Regions from separate parts of the Homo sapiens genome. Here regions 2 and 3 are each linked to region 1. The links are contacts of gene promoters, found by promoter capture Hi-C in blood cells and fetal thymus (Javierre and others, 2016). All regions are on one chromosome and are shown on one strand. Each heading gives the region's core, a stretch centred on a gene start or on the middle of the fragment in contact. The rest is flanking DNA. Distances are from core to core; before and after follow the strand shown. Region 1 holds the start of GCN1 (GCN1 activator of EIF2AK4). Region 2 overlaps BICDL1 (BICD family like cargo adaptor 1). Region 3 has its middle 5.3 kb from the start of BICDL1.

Evidence for each region. Contacts are between HindIII fragments. The CHiCAGO score rates a contact against its expected background, and 5 or more counts as called.
Region 2: a contact is called between a fragment that was not itself captured here and the fragment with the promoter of GCN1 in region 1, in 2 of 17 cell types (activated CD4 T cells and total CD4 T cells). The highest score is 7.0, in activated CD4 T cells.
Region 3: a contact is called between a fragment that was not itself captured here and the fragment with the promoter of GCN1 in region 1, in 2 of 17 cell types (activated CD4 T cells and naive CD4 T cells). The highest score is 7.0, in activated CD4 T cells.

Annotation. Positions count from the first base shown.
Region 1 is chr12:120,192,662-120,197,274 of GRCh38, forward strand. GCN1 (GCN1 activator of EIF2AK4) reads right to left here and starts at 2,054. Exons shown (of 58, transcript NM_006836.2): 1 at 2,019-2,054. The coding sequence starts at 2,036. RPLP0 (ribosomal protein lateral stalk subunit P0) reads right to left here. Exons shown (of 8, transcript NM_001002.4): 8 at 4,038-4,273. The coding sequence ends at 4,112. RefSeq lists a silencer at 1,762-2,351. The HindIII fragment of the contact is 5,843 bases long and covers 1,090-4,613 here.
Region 2 is chr12:120,012,474-120,017,405 of GRCh38, forward strand. All of the region lies in intron 2 of BICDL1 (BICD family like cargo adaptor 1), which reads left to right. Among named protein-coding and RNA genes, the nearest start is that of BICDL1, 26 kb to the left of the region's middle. RefSeq lists an enhancer at 108-187. The HindIII fragment of the contact is 1,598 bases long and covers 2,692-4,289 here.
Region 3 is chr12:119,981,720-119,986,140 of GRCh38, forward strand. No RefSeq gene overlaps it. Among named protein-coding and RNA genes, the nearest start is that of BICDL1, 5.3 kb to the right of the region's middle. RefSeq lists a silencer at 4,004-4,185. The HindIII fragment of the contact is 794 bases long and covers 2,337-3,130 here.

The DNA.
Region 1 (4,613 bases), core at 804-3,303:
GCAGAGGTTGTAGTGAGCCAAGATTGTGCCACTGCACTCTAGCCTGGGCGACAGAGCGAGACTCCGTCTCGAAAAAAAAAAAAAAAGAATACTGAAGACAAGGCCGGGCATGGTGGTTCACGCCTGTAATCCCAGCACTTTGGGAGACAGAGGCGGACAGATTGCTTGAGGTCAGAAGTTCGAGACCAGCCTACCCAACATGGTGAAACCCTGTCTCTACAAAAACTAGCCGGGCATGGTGGCGCATGCCTGTAATCCCAGCTACTCGGGAAGCTGAGGCAGGAGAATTGCTTGAACCTGGGAGGCAGAGGTTGCAGTGAGTTCAGATCGTGCCATTGCACTCCAGCCTGGGCAACAAGAGAGAAACTCCGTCTCAAAAAATAAAATAAAATAATAAAAAATAATTTCAGGCCAGGTGCGGTGGCTCACGCCTGTAATCCCAGCACTTTGGGAGGCCAAGGCAGAAGGATCACCTGAGGTCAGGAATTCGAGACCAGCCTGGCCAACATGGAGAAACCCCATCTCTACTAAAAATACAAAAATTATAAAATACAGAAATATTCTCCTGCACCACCCAATACGGTAGCCACTGGCTACATGTGGCTAACTGTGCACTGAAATGTGGCTGGTACAAGTGAAGAACTAAATTTTTTTTTTTTTTGAGACAGAGTCCCACTCTTGTTGCTCAGGCTGGAGCGCAGTGGTGCGATCTCAGCTCACTGCAACCTCTGCCTCCCAGGTTCAAGCGATTCTCATGCCTCAGCCTCCTGAGTAGCTGGAATTACAGACATGCCACCATACCCGGTTAATTTTTTGCATTTTTAGTAGAGACGGGGTTTTGCCACGTTGGTCAGACTAGTCTCAAACTCCTGACCTCAACTGATCCACCCGCCTTGGCCTCCCAAAGTGCTGGGATTACAGGGTGAGCCACCACGCCCAGCCAAACAATGAATTTTTTTATTTAATTTAATTTTAACAAACTTAAGCCATGTGGCTGCCATACTGGACATTGCAGCTCTAGAGATTTTTCCCTCAAGTGAGTATCAATGTTAAACATTCAGCATGTATTCCCCTAACCCTCTCATACTAAGCTTTTCTTTCTAGTATTCAGTACAACATAACTTGAACATCAGCCACCTGCATAGGAGTCTCAGTAAATGTCTTTTTGAATGCTTAAGTGGTCATTTTCTGGGCCTACACATAAAAATCAATCCCATCACCCTGGAGACACCAAATCAGCCCAGCTGTCCTTAGACACCTGTTCTTCCCCTGCCTCATGACAATGTCTTTTCACCTTAAAACATAACAACTGGGTGGAGGAAAAGGTTTTCCCAGGTCCTTCCTGAACTACAAGGTACCCATAGGTAACACTCTTCCTGGACAGGACAGTTCTTTTCACTAACCCTGGATCTGATAACAACCAACATATATCAAGCCGTATTTTATCTCACTGAACCTTCACAACAACCTTTTAAGATAAGTATTGTTTTAACTTCATTTTATAGATGAAAAGGCAGACTTGGCGGGGTTAAGTCACTTGTTTGGCATGTCACAGAAATCGACGAGCAGGAACTCAAGCCCAGATCTGTATGAATCCAAAGACTACACTCAAAGTCCCTGCTCATAGTAGGTGCTCAAAGAATATTTGCTGAATACAAAGTTTAAGGAAGACTTGGCGTTGGCCCGGGGCTCACAGCCGGAGGGCTTTGGAGAAAAGAAGTAGAGGCTCGGTAAAGTGAACTTCTGCAACTCTGGGGTCGGGCAAAGGCCCCGCCGAGCTCCAGCTGCTGAAGTCGAGGCGGGAGCCCCGGACTCCTCGAGCCCGCGGTCTGCCTGCGCCGCCCGGGCCGGGCCAAGCCCGCAGCCCTGAGAGTCCAGCCTGAGACGGCCCCGAGACTACGACCTCCACAGCCACCACCTCCAACGCCCCTAAGCCGAGGAGCGAGAGGGGCCCCGCCCGACGGCCACCGTCCGCACCCAGTCCCTGGCCGCGTTGGCCCCGCAGCCGCCCGCCTCACCTGCGTGTCCGCCGCCATCCTGCCGGGGCTGACTCCGGAACCGCTTCCGGAACGCTTCCGGGTCACAGCGTGGCCCACGCGGCAGGGCGAGGCCGGGAGCCAGCGGGGGCAGGGCCCCGGGCTTGGTGCCCCCGGGCAGGACGGCGGCCGCTGCAGCCCGGGCAGCCGGATCACGGGCTTAAAGTTGGCCCGCGCCCGAGCCACAAGGCCTCCTCCCCAGGGCCCGCTCTTCAGCCCCGGGCGCCTCGTGGGAGACTAGCGCTTGTAACGTGGTGAGCCCGCGGTGTAACGCTATGGGCCCGCCTTGCAGCCCCTGACCCACTTCCAGCCCGCAGGGCCAGCCCTACGTGGGCCTTTCCTGAGTGATGACTAAGTTCTTTAGAAAAACAAGTGTTGCTTCCTAGATAGCAGGAACTAAAAACTAGGTAAAAGAGTCGGTGAACTAGTCTTTTGTCCTCAGTTTGTAGTTCAGTTGGCGGATGACTTGTACAGGGTTAGCAAACGTGGCTGGATACGGAGGTCAGGGAAGGTTCAGAACTGAACGAGGCCCCTGCCCTGGGGAAATGCTGGACGCCCCAGGCTGGGAGTTTTGAAGGCCACAGGGCAAGAGGCTACGTGCAGACGTGGCTGCAATTTAGGGAACAGGGTCTCCACAGCTTAGTTGTCAGCCCTGTTAGCAGTGGCTTTCAAACCTTTGACACAGACCTAGTTAGAATGAATATATCATGTTCCAGCAGACAGATCTCTAAGTGAAATACAGGAATCACAACAAAAACACCTATTCTCAGCAGATGCTGCTTTCTCTTTAAATACTGGGGCCAGGCATGGTGGCTCACGCCTGTAATCCCAGCACTTTGGGAGGCTGAGGTGGGTAGATCAACCTGATGTTAGGATTTCCAGACCAGCCTGGTCAACATGACAAAACCTTGTCTCTACTAAAAATACCAAAAAAAAAAAAAAAAAAAAAAAAGGCCGGGTGCGGTGGCTCACCCTTGTATAATTCCAGCGCTTCGGGAGGACAGGGCGGGCAGATCACAAGGTCAGGAGTTCCAGACCAGCCTGGCCAACATAGTGAAACCCCGTCTCTACTAAAAGTACAAAAATTAGCCGAGTGGTGGCACATGCCTGTAGTCCCAGCTACTGGGGAGGCTGAGGTGGGAGAACCGCTTGAACCCGAGAGGCAGAGGTTGCAGTGAGCTGAGACCATACCATTGCACTCCAGTCTGGGTGACAGGACGAGACTGTCTCAACAACAAAAAAATTAGCCCGGTGTGGTGGCAGCCTCCGGTAATTGCAGCTACTTGGGAGGCTGAGGCAGGAGAATCACTTGAACCCAGGAGGCGGAGGTTGCAGTGAGCCAAGTCCAAGCCACTGCACCCCAGTCTCAAATATATTTGAGACTATCTCGAAAATATAAATTGGTTACCACCGAGTTGGAGCACCACCCAGTTTGAAAAACTTTACTCTAGGGGACTGGCCCCAGCATCCACCAGGTGCCTATCTCAGCTGACACTAAACCTACTCCAAGTATGCAGCAGCCATAGAAACAGTAATTCTAGTGTAATAGTTACAACTGTGTCTAGAAAACTGTATAGGATGTTTGATTGGTAGCTTCATTTAGATACCCAAACATCAACACCTAAATACAAAGCTCTGGTTTTACCATGGCTTTCGTTTCTAGCATATGGCACTATAAACCTCAAAATTAAGGGCCAGGCACATGGTGGCTCAAGCCTGTAATCCTAGCACTTTGGGAGGCTGAGGCAGGATTCCTTGAGGCCAGGAATTTGAGACCAGCTTGTGCAATATCTCTACAAAAAAAAAATTTAAAAATTAGTAGCTGAGTGTCATGGTGTGTGCCTGTAGTCCCAGCTACTTGGGAGGCTGAGATACGAGGATCCCTTGATCCCAGGAGTTCAAGGGTGCAGTGAGTTATGATTACACCACCACACTCCAGCCTGGGCAACAGCCAGACCCTGTGTCAAAAAGGAAAAAAAATTACAAAATTAAGAGTCCAGAGACTTTTTAAAGAAGTAAGCCTTTATTTCCTTGTTTTGCAAATAAAACTGGCTAAGTTGGTTGCTTTTTGGTGATTAGTCAAAGAGACCAAATCCCATATCCTCGTCCGACTCCTCCGACTCTTCCTTGGCTTCAACCTTAGCTGGGGCTGCAGCAGCAGCAGGAGCAGCTGTGGTGGCAGCAGCCACAGGGGCAGCAGCCACAAAGGCAGATGGATCAGCCAAGAAGGCCTTGACCTGAAAGGAGGGGGGAAGTGGTCAAAATGGTCATCCACACTCCTCTATTACCCACCACCCTCCTGCCTTGGTAGAGTTTAAGGACCAACAATATCAAAGTCCGTGTGAAGCCTTTCCTGTCAGAAGCAGCCCAAGCAGGACAGCTTGGGTATGGCCTAGTGAGGCAGGGTTCCTAAGGCCCAGCTCTTGCCCATTAACCCCCTCTTTGGGTCTCTTGTCATTTCTCAAGTGAGAAACGCCTTCCCTGCCTCCCAACCTCTCAAATATCCCCTCACAAAATTATCTGCTATATAAAATACAACTATAAAAGCAGTAAGGTAGAAGGCCACATCACCCTGCT
Region 2 (4,932 bases), core at 2,241-4,740, 180 kb before region 1:
TTGCTAGGTTACGGCTTTTCACATTGTCCCAGTCTGGTGATGTTGCCATGGATACCAGTTATACCTCCTCCTATGACACTGTCCTGGTCAGGCTCAGAGGGCGGGCAAGATGTAACTATGATGTCAGAGATGTTTTAGCATATGTCTTTCCCTTTACATTAATGATAAGATCTAAGTAATAGATATCAATTCTATGTGTTCTCATATATGAATTAAGGACATGAGGTATTAGCTGAATCCCTCAAACAGTCCACCACTTAGAACCTTTATTCCATTATGTATTTTTTTTCTTTTTTAAAGGAAAGGGAAGGGAAAGGAAGGGGAAAGCCTTTATTCCATTATAATTCTGCAGAAATGGAACTAACAGATTATAAAATATGAATATAAGATCTGCTATACTGTGTCCAGCTCATTCCCTACACAGACCAGCACCCCACCTCCCATAGGGTGGGCTATACATGGAATATCATTATCCTTTACATTGCCTTCAGTGGTAGGGACATTTGGGAATGCTTTTTGTCAAACTCTTAATTTATCTAAGTTATAAAGCCTGTGGGCCGGTAATGGTGGCTCATGCCTGTAATCCCAGCACTTTGGGAGGCCAAGGCGGGTGGATCACCTAAGGTCAGGAGTTCAAGACCAGCCTGGCCAACATGGCGAAACCCCGTCTCTACTAAAAATACAAAAAAAATTAGCCGGGTCTGGTGGCATATGCCTGTAGTCCCAGCTACTCAGAAGGCTGAGGCAGGAGAATCGTTTGAACCTGGGAGGTGGAGGTTGCAATGAGCCAAGATCACACCTCTTCACTCCAGCCTGGGGGACAGAGCAAGACTCCATCTCAAAAAAAAAAAAAAATTATAAAGCCTGTGGTCCAAATTTTATTGTCATTTAATGTCACATGATTATATTTCTTCTCCTGCTAGGTTTTAGACACCATGAATTGCAGGGACTATGTCTTTAACCAGAGTGTGTGTGTGTGTGTGTGTGTGTGTGTGTGTGTGTGTGTGTGTCAGAGTCTTACTCTATCACCCAGGCTGGAGTGCAGTGGCGCGATCTCGGCTCACTGCAACCTCCGCCTCCTGGGTTCAAGTGATTCTCCTGCCTCAGCCTCCTGAGTAGCTGGGATTACAGGTGCCCGCCACCACGCCTGGCTAATTTTTGTATTTTTAGTAGAGACAGGGTTTTGCCATGTTGATTAGGCAGGTCTTGAACTCCTGGCCTCAAGTGATCCGCCTGCCTCAGCCTCCCGAAGTGCTGGGATTACAGGCGTGAGCCACCGTGTCCAGCCTTTAACCAGTTTTTATCCCCAACAACACTTAGTGCCATGCATATTATGGCAGGGATCCAGAAAAGTCTCATTGATTTGTTCTGAAGACTGAAATGTAGGTAATAACTAATTTGACTTTAGATTTCTAGCATAGTGTTTTAAGATGGTGGAAACCCCCGCATATTACAGTTGTTGAAGGGCAAGGTTAACCCATGTTATTTAGCTCTTGTCTAGTCTGACCTTTTGATCTCACAGTTGAAGAAAGCACTAAGGCCGTAGGAGGATGTGACTCATCTAAGGTCACAGCCAGTAAACCTGTGGTTTAGGTAAATGTGTGTTATAAAAAATCTTTGAAAAACAAGGTGTAAAAATCTTTGCAAAGTAATTCTGTTTACTTAAACGATCATGTTTTGTTTTATGCAGTCTGTTTACTTAAAAACCTAGCAGACAGAAAGCTATTATTAAAGAAGAACTTCAATATTTAAAAGGAGCCCTACATAGAACCTACCTACCAGTTACTTCAAGTCAACTCGAAGCCTTGCATTCTGCTTAGTATTTGAATTATTCCTCAAAAACCAAAATAAAATTTAATGTAGCATCGGATTGAGGCATCTTTCAAAAGTAACATCTATTTTGAAAACCAGCAGAGTTTGAATTAAAAAACCATTCTTGCACCGGTGCAGTGGCTCACGTCTGTAATCTCAGCACTTTGGGAGGCTGAGCCGGGCAGATCACAAAGTCAGGAGATCGAGACCATCCTGGCCAACATGATGAAACCCCGTCTCTACTGAAAATACAAAAATTAGCCAAGTGTGGTGGCGCGTGCCTTTCATCCCAGCTACTCAGGAGGCTGAGGCAAGAGAATCGCTTGAACCCAGGAGGCAGAGGTTGCAGTGAGCCGAGATCACGGCACTGCACTACAGCCTGTGACAGAGCGAGACTCCATCTCAAAAAAAAAAAAAAGCAAACCATTCTTGGCTGGGTGTGGTGGCTTACACCTGTAATCTCAACACTTGGGAGGCCAAGGTGGGAGGATTGATCCCAGAAGTTCGAGACCACCCTGGGCAACATGGTGAGACTCCCATCTCTAAAAAAAAATTAAAAAATAAAAAAAATTATTTGTATGTCATGTTACTTCCCTAAAATGAAAGGAATTTATTTACCAAATAGAATCCTTTGTTTGAAAAAAAAATGAGTGAAAACATGTCTTCTGAAAATACAGTCTGCTAAAGTTATAGGTTATGGACTTTTAACTGTCAGTGGGAGAGACAGACAAATCTTATGAGAGTCAGGGAAAGTGACAAAGCTGAAACCCTCAAGAGAGGACACATAATTCAAGATGGATCTTCCCTCCCTTGCCCCAAGACCAGAGAATTCAAGAGTCTGCCCCTTCCCACTTGCAGTGGGAAGGGAAAGCTTGTTGAAGCTTTCTTAACTTTATGCAATAACCTGAAACATCTCCTTGCCTTTAAGCTCTGCTCCTCCATTTTTTCCCATTGTCAGATACCTTCCTCTTTGGAAGCTCTAAACAACTCTTACTGCATTTAGGGGACTCCCTTGGCATAACAAATAAGAAAGGGCATGGCATTCAAAGCCCTGTACCTTCTGGACCTAGCACACATTTCCAGCCCTGCCTCTTCTTTCTACTTGTACCACCGTTGGAATTTCCCCCAGTCCTGAAGGCCAGGCTCAGTTGCCACTTCCTTCATGAGAACTTTGCTGTTCTTCTCCCACCAGCTTTGATCTCTCCTACTTACCAACTAGAGTGCTTTAGTCCCTTTCTTTTGTCATTTACATTCTGTCATCTCTTACGGTTAATTCATGTATTTGACTCCATTGAGTCAAGGACTGTGCACTCAGGGCACCTCCCCCACAGGGCTGAGCACCTTATCTGGAAACTTCGTATGTGTTAGAACTAGATTCACAAGCCAGCTAAGCATATGTTACTTAGTTCTGTGGTTCAAATGTATAGCAAACTTGACCATTTACTAAAAGGTTGAACCCACCCAGAGAATTATTTCACTTCTCTTAATATATACTTAATCTTGCTGAATTCCTTTTCCATTGTCCAGATCACTGGTTCCCAGTCTTTCAGTGTAAGGAACCCCCTTTTTAAAACCTAATCCAATGACCTTCTACAATATTTTGAAACAGCCTTATTGAAGTATAATTTACAGTTTATAAATTCACCCACTGTAAATGTATAATTCAATTTTTAGCATATGTACAGAGTTGTGCAGCCATCACCATAATCCAATTTTAGAACATTTCTGCTACCCCAAAAAGTTCCCCCATATCGTTCTGCATTCAGTCTTCACTCCTGTCCCCACCCGCAGCCCCAGGAAAACACTGATCTGTTTTCTGTCTGTATTGATTTTCCTTTTCTGGATATTTCATATAAATGGAATCAGGCAATATATAGTTTTTGTGTCTGGCCTCTTTCACTTAGCATCACGTCTGTGAGGTTCACTCGTGTTATAGCACATAATAGTTCCTTTTTTAGTATTCCATTGTGTGAATATACTGCATTTTGTTTATCCATAACCAGTTAATGGAGATTTGGATTGTTTCCAATTTTCAACTATTATGAATAGTGCTGTTAGGAACATTCATGTACAAGTCTTTGGACTTACACTTTCATTTCTTTTGGGTAGATATTTAGGAGTGGAATTGCTATATGGTATGTCTGTAACCTTTTTTTTTTTTTTTTTTTTTTTGAGACAGGGTCTCACTCTGTCACCCATGCTGGAGTACAGTGGCGTGATCATGGCTCACTACTCTGGTGATTCTCCCACTTCAGTCTCCCAAGTAGCTGGGACTACAGGCATGTGCCACCATGCCCAGCTAATTTTTGTATTTTTTGTAGAGACAGTTTTGCCATGTTGCCCAGGCTGATCTTGAACTCTTGGGCTCAAGCAGTTTGTCCATCTTAGCCTCCCAAAGTGCTAGGATTACAGGTGTGAACCACCACACCTGTCCTGTCTGTAACTTTTTAAGAAACCGCCAAACTTATTTTCAAAGAAGCTTGTACCAGTTTATATTCCTACCAACAATGCGTGAGAGTTCCAGTTTCTCCACAAGAGGACTCCTTTTTAGTATGTAAAAAAAAAAAAAATTGTAGACCTTCACATGGTAATAGATTTATTTTACTTTATTTTATTTCATTTTTTGAGACGGAGTCTCGCTCTCTCTCCCAGTCTGGAGTGCAGTGGCACGATCTCGGCTCACTGCAAGCTCTGCCTCCCGGGTTCATGCCATTCTCCTGCTGAGCTCAGCCTCCCGAGTAGCTGGGACTACAGGCACCCGCCACCACACCCGGCTAATTTTTTGTATTTTTAGTAGAGACAGGGTTTCACTGTGTTAGCCAGGATGGTCTAGATCTCCTGACCTTGTGATCCGCCTGCCCTGGCCTCCCAAAGTGCTGGAATTACAGGCGTGAGCCATCGTGCCCAGCCTAGATGTTGTTTTATATCAGCAGATTGATAAAACAACACAGGGATTGAGTAATACTTTTAAAAGGATTTATATTCTAGAATCAAAACAGCGTGTATTAACATGATGTGTTCAGTATAGAGGCAGTGCTCTTAAAGCAACTCGGTGTCCCCAAAGGATTCATGGTTTGTAAGTTGGGAGCCACTGATCCAGATGACTTGTTTAGAAATAAA
Region 3 (4,421 bases), core at 1,484-3,983, 210 kb before region 1:
CTGGGCATGGTGGCATGTACCTGTAATCCCAGCTACTAGAGAGGCTGAGGCAGGAGAATCGCTTGAACCCAGGAGCTGGAGGTTGCAGTGAGCCGAGATCATGCCACTGCACTCCAGCCTGCTTGACACAGTGAGATGCCGTCTTAAAAAAAAAAAAATCACCCCCAGTTGAGAACTACTGGTTTAGAGCATACAGGGGTGATTACCAGGCCAACTTCATACCGTACAGATAAGGAAGCCAAAGCCTAGGCACATTAAATGCCTTGTTCAATTGTACATAGCTACACAGCTGGTTAATGACAGATCTAATTCAGAAAGCCCAGATTGTTTGTTTGTTGGTTGGTTTTTAGAGACAGGGTCTCGCTCTGAGACCGAGGCTGGAGTGCAGTGGCGCGATAGTAGCTCACCGCCTCGCTGCATCCTCAAACTCCATGTCTCAGCCTCAGGAGTAGCTAAGACTATAGGTGGGAGACAGAGGATCTCTCTGTGTTGCTCAGGGTGGTCTCAAACTCCTGGCCTCAAGCGATCTTCCAGCCTCGGCCTCCCAAAGTGCTGAAATTACAGGAGTGAGCCACTGCACCTGGCCTGCCAGGCTCCATTTTAAACATATCTGAAATATTCTTGTCTTAAGACTGACCTTATTAAGTAAGTATTACTTCTTCTTCTTCTTATTATTATTATTATTATTGGAGACAGGGTCTTGCTCTGTCATCCAGGCTGGAGTGCAGTGGCACACAGCTCACTAAAGCCTCAACCTCCTGGGCTCAGGTGATCCTCCCACCTCAGCCTCTCCAGTAGCTGAGATGAAACGCACACACCACCATGCCTGGCTAATTTATTTTTTATTTTTTTGTAGGGACAGGGTTTTGTTATGTTACCCAGGCTGGTCTTGAACTCCTGGGCTCAAGCAATTCACTCACCTCGGCCTCTGAAAGTGTTGGGATTACAGGTGTGAGCCACCACACCTGGCCTATCAGGCTTCATTTTTAAGAGCTGTACGTATCTGAAATCTTTCTGTCTTAAGACCAAATTTATCAGGTAAGTACTACCATTATCCCCATTTTATAAATGAAGAAACTGAGGCATAGAGGTCCAAAGTCATCCAACTCCTAAGTGGCAGAACTAGATGCAGCCCAGGAAGTCTGGTTCATGATCATTAAGGGGAAAGACTGAAGATGCCTAATCAGAAGGGAGGAAAAATGGGTCAGAAGCTGGAAATGACAGTTGTCAGAAAATAACTGGCAGAGGTAACAGGGCAGCTAGACCTGGGGTATTAGGCAAATCCTTGGGAGAGAGGAGTTCTCATCTGGAAGGGAAAAGTTGGGCAAGGATGTTGGTAGGAAAGGATAGAAGCTGGAGGAGAGGAAGTTGGGAACTCACACTGTGTATCCATATAGGGACAAGATGAGGCTTCTATTTACCTTCTGAGTAGCAGAGAAGGAACTTCCCGACATCAGGCAGGGCAGGGTCTCTGCTGAAGACTGACACCGGTGAGCACCAGCCACTGATGTTAACATTTTTCCCCTAAAAACCAACTTGAGAACCACCAGGGGTATACACACCACATTCTGCAAAATGTTGAGATCACTCCTCTCTAAAAAATATAAAGTGCTTTGGGTAACATTTGATGAATGTCCAAGACTTGTATGTTTCCACGATTATTTCATAGACAAAATATACAACTTAAAACACGCGTGATCTGCTGGTGCACACAAACACACACATCATAGCTAAATGAAAATATCAAGCATAGAACAGCTTTATTACACATTTTGCCAGTTCCTCATGTTTCTTCAACACTTGGCTTTTCAAAAACAAATTTTCGAGACGTTTTGTCTTTTACACTTTCCAGTTTTCACGGACCAAGATGTTAATAAAAGTAAACAACTTGGGGAAATCGGATGAGCGTTGTCATATTTGTAGATATCAGGATCTCTAAGAAGGAAAAATGTCATGTTTTGCCCTTAGTGATGTAATAGCACTTACGTGGAAATTCACCCATAGTATGTTAAGTATGTAAACTGTACTCATACTCAAGTTTACCAGACTATCCAGGTACTAAAACTAACACTAATGCAAATATATTTTAAAGGAATACATAAGTGATAAAAAGTGAAGTGCAGTAGAGTAACTAAGAACAAGTCCATTAGAGACAGACAGTTCTAAAACACTAGCATCATAGTATCATGTACTAGTATATATTGGTGTAACACACTACCATTATAGGGTTATTGTGAGGATTAAATGAGAGAGTGTTACATAAAGGATTTAAGGAGCACAGTGCTAAATGTATTTTAGCTGTTATTGTTCTAGCATGAAGAAGAATAAATTTAATAAGCTTCTTAGAAGTCTGATGGTTTTCATAACTTGGCTTTAATGAGTTTTAAATCCTGGCACTAATTTCCATATAGGCAGGTATATATTCATTCTGTTACCTCAAGGCTGACCTAATGGACTTGAATCAGCAGTTCCCAGAGTGTGGTGCACCGGCTCCTAAAGGTCCTAGAGTCTTTCAGAGGGCTACCAAGAAAAGAACTATTTTCATAATAAGTGTAAGGATTATCATTCTAATGTTATTAACAATAGCAAACTAATTTCATAATAATGCTAATCATCTAATACTATTTTTGTTTGTAATTATGTTGACATTTGCACTGATGGTGCAAAAGCAATGGTAGGTAACACCACTGATACCTTAGCATGAGTCAAGGCAGTGTTACCCAGCTGTGCTGGTACACATGGTAGTCTTCACTTTCATGTGCTCATAGAAAAAACAGAAGCTAGTTTTATTAACCAATGTCCCTGACGAAGCAGTACTTCTATTAAGTCCAGACCCTTGAGTGCACATCTTTTTAATATTTCATGTGATGAAATGGGAAGTACCCACAAAGCACTTCTGCTGTGTACTGAAGTATGATGGTTATCTTGAGGTGAAGCACTTGTACCTCCGTTTGAGTTGGGAACTAACTAGCCACATTTTTCACGGAACACTGTTTTTACCTGAATGAATGACACAAACTGTGGTATTCAGATTCGGGTATTTGGCAGATATTTTCTCAAGAATTAATGAAGTAAGTCTGTTACTTCAAGGAAAACAACTCAAAATATTTGTTACTAATGATAAAACTCAAGCTTAGTAACTTCTCAATACTTAAAGACTTTTATGATGAGATCAGTGGTGGTGATATTAATGAATGTGATTAGGCTGATATTGTGTAATGACATGTGACAATATTTGTAAGATCTGCATAACTCAGACATTTTCCAAATGAAAATACATGCTGTTATACAATCAATCATACATATGTAAAAAATCCATTCAAAGTGAAAAATAGATCAATGGGATTTCCTTGACATGGTTTTAGATTTCACATTGCAACTAACCTTTAAGAAACTACAACTTGTCATCTGGGCGCAGTGGCTCACGCCTGTAATCCCAGCACTTTGGGAGGCTGAGGTGGGTGGATCACCTGAGGTCAGGAGTTCAAGACCAGCCTGGCCAACATAGTGAAACCCCGTCTCTACTAAAAATACCAAAATTAGCCAAGTGTGGGGGCACATGCCTGTAGTCCCAGCTACTTGGGAGGCTGAGGCAGGAGAATCACTTGACCTGGGAGGTGGAGGATGCAGCGAGCCAAGATTGCGCCACTGCACTCACTCCAGCCTGGGCAACAGAGTGAGACTCCATCTCAAGAAAGAAAGAAAGAGAGAGAGAGAGAGAAAGAAAGAAACTATAACTTGTCAAGTTTGGGTGTAATATCAAAGAAAAATATCCAAAATGAAAAGGCTACTAAAATATTCCTCCTTTTCCCAACCACATATCTTTGTGAGTCCAAATTTTCTTCATATATTTCAAAATATCATACATTATAGATATATCCAAATACAAGAATTCACTTTTCTACTGTTAAGCCATACATTACAGAGGTTTACAAAAATGAAGAATAACGCCATTCTTCTCACTAGTTTTTTTTACATTTAGGACCATATAGTTATTGTTCATAAAAATTCATTATAGTTACATATAATAGGTTTATCATAAATATTTAAAATGAATTAATTATTTAAAAACTTTTTTTTTGGAGATGGAGTCTCACTCTGTCACCCAGGCTGGAGTGCAGTGGCGTGACCTTGGCTCACTGCAACGTCCGCCTCCCAGGTTCAAACGATCCTCCCGCCTCAGCCTCCTGAGTAGCTGGGACTACAGGCACATGCCACCATGCACAGCTAATTTTTGTATTTTTAGTAGAGACAGGGTTTTGCCATGCTGGCCAGGCTGGTCTTGAACTCATTACCCCAAGTGATCTGCCTGCCTCGGCCTCCCAAAGTGCTAGGATTACAAGCATGAGCCACCGTACCCGGCCCAAGAGTGTAATGAGATTCTGAGACCAAAATGTTTAAGAACCACTATTTTGAATAGT